Linked DNA regions of Homo sapiens: region 1 is linked to region 2. Evidence: promoter capture Hi-C in human tissues and cell types (Jung and others, 2019). All regions are on one chromosome and are shown on one strand. Each heading gives the region's core, a stretch centred on a gene start or on the middle of the fragment in contact. The rest is flanking DNA. Distances are from core to core; before and after follow the strand shown. Region 1 has its middle 38 kb from the start of CBLN2. Region 2 holds the start of GTSCR1 (Gilles de la Tourette syndrome chromosome region, candidate 1).

The links. Contacts are between HindIII fragments. The study calls those that stand out against the background at their distance.
Region 1: a contact is called between a fragment that was not itself captured here and the fragment with the promoter of GTSCR1 in region 2, in 1 of the 25 tissues and cell types used here (dorsolateral prefrontal cortex).

The regions. Positions count from the first base shown.
Region 1 is chr18:72,579,958-72,583,753 of GRCh38, reverse strand. It overlaps a transcript of CBLN2 not described here. Among named protein-coding and RNA genes, the nearest start is that of CBLN2, 38 kb to the right of the region's middle. The HindIII fragment of the contact is 5,810 bases long and covers 1-3,796 here.
Region 2 is chr18:70,649,284-70,652,645 of GRCh38, reverse strand. GTSCR1 (Gilles de la Tourette syndrome chromosome region, candidate 1) reads left to right here and starts at 1,692. Exons shown (of 3, transcript NR_160904.1): 1 at 1,692-2,036. The HindIII fragment of the contact is 9,016 bases long and covers 1-3,362 here.

The DNA.
Region 1 (3,796 bases), core at 1,046-3,545, 1.9 Mb before region 2:
GTACTTTATTACATTTCATTATTACTATAAGTGGTAAGAATGCTCACTTGGTTGCTTTATAGACAAGAGTTTCTGAGAGATTAATAGAATTCTGGGCCATTTTCATTTTTTAAAGCTTCTGGTATATATATTTTTAAAAAGAATAAATGTCAAAATAAGGTTATAAATTTTATGATAATCTATGAAATTAATGTTTTTAAGTTGAAAAAATAGCTAAAATGCAATGGTTTCTACAATGTCCAGGATAAATGGAATTCATTCACACCTGCTTTGGCAGAGTTCCAGATTTGGTAACACTCTGGGAGCAGTATTGAGCCCCCAAAGTATAGCATGAGTGTATGCTTGTGTTTGCAAGGAGGGACTGGGCGTGGGTGAGAGGGAATAACAGGCTCTGCTCTAGAAAACCAAGAAAGAGCCGCTGCTTTTGTTCAACATGAGCTGCTCCAAAGTCCAGGTAGATGAGGTATCCCAGACAGCTGCGCTTCTTCCCTCCTCTCTTTTCAAGGATTTAGCTCTGCCTGGGGCTTACAAAAAGGATTGGAAATTTTCAGGTGAACATATGTGGTTTAAGGAGAAACTTGCCTGCCAGGCAACCTGGGAGTCTTAATCTGATCAGACCTCACTCTTGTCCTGGCAGGTCTAGTCCCTGCCCTCGAGGCCTGGGCCTGGGCCCGGGCCCAGCTTCCATCCTTCACTTCAGTTCTGCAAATTCTCACTCCCACTCATGTTGGAAGGGAGAAAGCTAGTCCATCTCACAGAGTGAACCTCAGCAGAGGGTGCAAGAAGACCCTGCCTGGGAAGGCAGGCTGAGATACCAGCGTTTTGATGGGAAACATTTAAATATTTAGACATAGCATGCAACATAAGATGTAGGTCTAAATTAAGCATTGTAATTCCAAGTAAGATCATGGTATTTCCTTAAGGACTGTTTGCTGTCTAACTCTAGGTCTCATGTTTCCACTGGGGTTTAATCTGAGCATGATCCACAAATCCCAGGGAAACTGCTTTTCCAATCTGTTTAAGTATATTGGCTTTAGACTTGGGTATGTGGGCCCCTGCTCTTAAACAGTCCTGGATATCTCATGCACATATTATATGCAATTATTAAAGGATGTGTGAGCACCTGTTTTACTCAAGGTTTGGTTCCCAGAGAGTGCAGGAGGCACAGCACAACTCATGCATTCTCTCCTATTAATCTTGTCCTCAGACCCCAGGAAAAAGCTCCTTCACATCTCTCGCCTCATATCAGAAACAGTATGTTTCTGCTTCCCAGAACCAGGAAGTTTTATGGCAAGTGTGCCTGTCTGCTGACATCTGAAAGAACAAGCCTTAGAGTATGGGGCAGCTTGAGTGATAGAAGCCAATTACCTTAAAAGATGTTATCTTCCTACAAACTCCATACTGTTCCCGGATGCTCCACCACACTCAGATCATGTCAGTTAGGAGACACTAAAAGGCTTCTGCCTGCAAATTAAATCATTCATTCACAATATTTTATATGAAACTTGGCAAGATATATCTAAAATTGACATGGAAATGCAAAGACCCAAAAATAGCCAAAGCACTCTTAGAGAAAAATGTGGGAGGACTTGCACTGCCATATATAAAGCCAAGTTTCAAAGCATATGGTTCTGATGCAAGGGTAGATGACAGAACAGGGAAAAAATAGAGTGCTTCAAATAGCCCTGTGGAGATTTGGACACTTGATTTACAACAGAAATGTCACATCGAAGCAGTGGAGGAAAGGCAGTCCTTTCATAAATGGTGTGAAGACGAGAAGCTCCTCACAAACAAAACCCCAAAACTTTGAATGTTATTGCATATTGGACAGAAGAAGTCTGAAACCCACAGAGATTGAACATAGACATGCAAAACACACTCACAAACATATACGAACTAATCGATTAAACAGGCAAATAAATGAATTTAATTTAACTAATAGAATATGACCTCAGTCTAGAAAAATATTTAAGCAGCATACAAAACACACTCATCATAGAGAAAAAATTTACAAACAAAATGGCATTAAATGTAACATCTCTAAATGTAAACCAAAATTCGACATTAAAGAGGGGAAAAGATGTTATTCGCAACACATGTAATCACAAAGACTTATTTTGAGAATATACAGATAACTTCGTGTAAACAAGAAAGAGAGAAAACTCATGAGAACATAAGCTAAAGCTCCAAACAGGTGTAAGTTAACATATACAAGACACAAAGTGGGATATTCTAATGATTTAAATGGTCAGTATACATAAAGAAATGTGCTTCACCTTATCAGTAACCAAGGAAATACAAATTAAACAGTAATAAAATTTATTATAACATCCATAAGAATGGCTAGAATTTAAAGAACCAGGGGATGGCACACAAGGAGAAATCATAAAATTCTCATATATTGATAGTAGATATATAAATTGTTATAATCATTGCAGAAGATAGGAACTCTTGATTAATTTTAAGATGCATATGTCATATGACTAAGCAATTTATTCCTCAAGGTATACAATTAAAAATATTCTGACACACGTTAAAAAAGTTAGGAAGACATTATTCAAGACTGCTGTGAAGGGAAAAGAGATTGGGCTCCTGATAGAGGAGAGATATCTGAGGATTTATATCAAAGAGCAGAGTGAGGCAGTCAGTGGATAGAAAATTACTAAGGGTAGGGGGATTCTTGATAAACTGACCTAAGAGGTTTCTTGCAAAAGGCAAGCCAAGGACTTAAACATAAAACGTGGTCAGATATCAAGGGTGGGAGGGTTCTCAAACTGGCTTAGCGGAATACTGGCTAATACTGTACTAAGGAGGCTGAGGGCAGGATGGGGCCAAGGTGGAAGCCTTATTGAGAAGAGGGCTCAAAGGAGCCTGACTGAAGTTTGGTTAAGAAGAGAGTCTGTCAATACTCAACAAAAATATAGGTGTATGTGTTCCAGGAGAGATATAATGTGAATGTTCATAGGGTCATTATTCATAATTGACATAATTTCAAAATAATCTAAATGTTGATCAGCAGAAGCATGAATAAATAGAATGTGGTATATTTACACAATAAAATACTTTGAAATGCATGACATATAATTATACAACATAATACAAATGAATTCAAAAGCATCATGTTTAATGTGAACAAATGATGAAAGGCAAAATGTATATATATATATGTGTGTGATTCCAATTCTATGAAATTAACCACAGTTATACTATAATATGTAGGAATGTAAACTTGGGTGGTGAAAAGGCAAACAATGAATTGATGCCATAATATTCAGATAAGTAGTCATTTTTTAGAGGTTAAAGGGAGGGTTATGATAGAAACAAACCTCTGAGGGTATGCTGGCTTTCTGTCAATATTCTAGTCCTTGCTCTGGGTAGTAGTTATGTATGTGTTTGCAATGGAATAAGTCAATAGCTGAATAGTTTTCCTTAATATATTTTTGGCATGAGTTAGTATTTTATAATAAAAAGAGTTGACACCTCTGTTCAACTGAATTTTTAAGCATTTTTATAAAGTATAATATTTAGAGTTGAGTTTCCTGTTAGCTTTTAAGAACATTTCTAGTCATTTTTCATATAAAAATCAGAAATATCATTAATTATAATGTCACCCATGCCATTTTTTCCTACTATTTTTTCTTGTATATATATATATATTATGCTATAATTTGGAAAAAAGTAGTTGCACTGCTATAATCATATCTTCTTTTGAAAAAGGAGAATAAAACTCCAGTTTTCATATTTCTTTTCAGAAGTGTTAATTATTGATCTATTTAAATTTCAAAATACTTTATTT
Region 2 (3,362 bases), core at 443-2,942:
CAGGAAAGTGGTTAGGCATATTCAAATTTTTGCACCCAACCATGCTCTACCCTCTTAGCCACACTATGGGTATTATTTTCTGAGGCAGTCAAAATTGACTGCCACTCATTTTTCAAAATCTGTTCTATGACTGCAAGCTCTCAAAGACAGCAATGCAGAAAGGATAGGAGATTGAGTCCTGCATATGGACTCTTCCATAAATCAATGTGATGAAGGACAATATAATCTCTTATCTTGCTGAAAATTAGTGAGCAAGACCCATGTCATATTCATATTGTGCCCTACTTAGTGTCTCACTCATAATAAACACAACAAATACTTTACAAATGAAGAAGATGACTTCTATAAATCAGTGTGATCAAGGGCAGAGACACTAGCCCTGGTGATTGGAATTTCCCTGGAAGAACTACAACATGACTCCAATTATTTGAAAAATGAAATAGCTCACTAATATACAGGGAAGACTGAATATTAGAAGGCCCACATTAGACACATGCATTCTAGACCTAATTTGGGCCAGACATGTGCTCATTAGTGTATAATTCAACTTCAGATCTGGGGAAGGGGGTTGCAAGGTGGGGAAGGGCAGGGAATTCTTTTAGTCACATGTCCAATCCATACAGTACTCTCAGTCATTTGAAAACATAAAATCCAGGAAGGCAAGGCCAGCTTGCCTCTCCTTACCATCTGTTCACTCTCTCAGCTTCAGGGAACTTCAGGGAGCAGTTATACCGGGTACATCACAAATGTTTGACCTCAGCCACAAATGTTTGACCTCTGTGAATGCCACCAGCATCCAATAAATAGCTCAATATAGAGACCTAGGAATTATCTAAGACTCCTCCACTGCCCCAGGTTACATATCCAACCTTTATCGATCTTATCCATTTTACTTCCCAAATATCTCTCATTTTTCTCCATTTCCATTATTCCCACAGTAGTCCAAGCTAATGTCATCTTTCTCCAGTAATATGCCATCACTTGCTAACTGATCAAGCAATATCCACACTGCAAACCTCCTTCAGACGATCTATTCTGCCCTGCATAACCAGAGTGTCCCTTTCAAAATTCAAATCCAGTGTCACTACCCAAATCCCATCTCGAATTGTAACCCCCATGGTTTGGCTCTGTGTCCCCACCCAAATCCCATCTCGAATTGTAACCCCCATGTGTTGAGGAAGGGACCTGTAATCCCCAAATCTCAAGGGAAGGAGGTGACTGGATCATGTAAACAGTTTCCCCCATGCTGTTCTCATGACAGTGAGTGAGTTCTCATGAGATCTGATGGTTTATAAGTGTTTGACTGTTCCTCCTTCATAGGCTCTCTCTCGCCTGCCACCACGTAAGACATCCCTCCTTCCCCTTCTGACATGATTGTAAGTTTCCTGAGGCCTCACCAGCCATGCGGAACTGTGAGTCACCTAAATCTCTTTTCTGTATAAATGACCCAGTCTCAGGCAGTTCTTTACAGCAGTGTGAAAATGGACTAATATGCTACCCCATCTCCATCCCACTGCCATCCTCCCTAAAGCCCTACAGTAGATTGCTGTTACTCTTAGAATCAAGACCAGACTGCTTCCGGGGTCTATACCACCTTCTGTGGTTTTGTCCCCAGCTAGTTTACATCACATGCCCCTCCTCTTCCTTTCTCCATCACATTTCACATTTGCCATTTACTTTTTTTTTTTTTTCATTTCAACCTTCCTTTGCTTTTACCCTATCATGCTCCCTCACCCCACAAAGCTTTTGTACATTCTGCATCTCCTTCCTGGAACATTCTACCTCCCTCTGCATCTAGGTCTCTGCCTGAGCTCAGGTTCCCTAAAAAGCCTGGTCTGAGGCAATGACTAAAAAGGCTCCTATTTTGTTTAAGGACGTGCAAACTCATGGCAAGAAGGTGAGGAAAACAGCTACGGAGGGAAGGATGAGAAGCAATGCAAAGTGACATATACCATCCTGGCCACAGCTTCCCAAGTTGGGTCCTTTGCTGGGTGCACTCATGTGGCCATGAGGGACATCTCAGAGAGACTGCAGAGGTAAGCAAGATCTCTTTCCTGAAACAGTTTGTTCATCAGAAAAAGGGAGAAGAGGAAATGAATCTTCCTAGCTCTTTCAAGGTCTTTTTTCCTTATTACTCAATTCCCTGAACAGGGGGTTAATTCACTCAGTTTCAGATTGTGACTTCCAGCCTCATTATTTGGGAAGCCAGGCTGCAAACCATAGTACATTATTTTATCCAAACCTTGAAGTAATGGGGAAAACATTAAAAAAAAAAAAAAAAAAAAAAAAAAAAACAGAGACTCGGGTGCACAGCTGGTTAGATTGGCTGTAGGTGGCAGCCAAGGGGAGAGCCTGGCCTTCTGAGGTGCAGACTGGTCACGTTTAGGCAGGAGCATGGGTCAGCCAAGGCTGTGGCCTAATTAGAGGATACAGTGGAGCATTAAGTCAATGGCGATGCACTCTTAGAATGTGGCTACGCCCCTTGTAACCACTATGGTATTTACAACCATTCTAAGGACACAGAAAACTTGTTCATAGTATTAAGAAAAAATGGTATATAAAACTGTGTATAAAGTATGTTTCAATTATAATCTTTAATTCTGTTAGAATTCTTTTTTCCCAAGAGTATGCATTAACTTTACAGTTTTCTTAAAAAAAAAAATGGAAGAAAACAGTTTCCAAGAAGAAGGGTCAACAGATTCCACAGTATTGACTCAGGAAAGTGCAAGCATTGCAGGGACCAGGAACATCCAGGCTGGCAAGAAGCCAAAACAGGAGGGAGCGGGGAGGGGCGCAGCCCCGAAGCAATGTTAGGAGGCTCTGACCACTTTCCGAAGAACGTTGTATCTCCAAGGCCTTCGCTTCTCTATCTGTAAATTTCAAACAAGATCCCGGTGTGTGATGTTCCCCTTCCTGTGTCCATGTGTTCTCATTGTTCAATTCCCACCTAAGAGTGAGAACATGCCGTGTTTGGTTTTGTGTCCTTGCGATAGTTTGCTGAGAATGATGGTTTCCAGCTTCATCCATGTCCCTAAAAAGGACATGAACTCATCATTTTTTATGGCTGCATAGTATTCCATGGTGTATATGTGCCACATTTTCTTAATCCAGTCTATCATTGTTGGACATTTGGGTTGGTTCCAAGTCTTTGCTATTGTGAATAGTGCCGCAATGTTGTGGGGTGGGGGGAGGGGGGAGGGATAGCATTAGGAGATATACCTAATGTTAAATGATGAGTTAATGGGTGCAGCACACCCACATGGCACATGAATACATATGTAACAAACCTGCACGTTGTGCACATGTACCCTAAAACTTAAAGTATAATTTAAAAAAAGTTCAAACAAGATCTTCATTTGGGT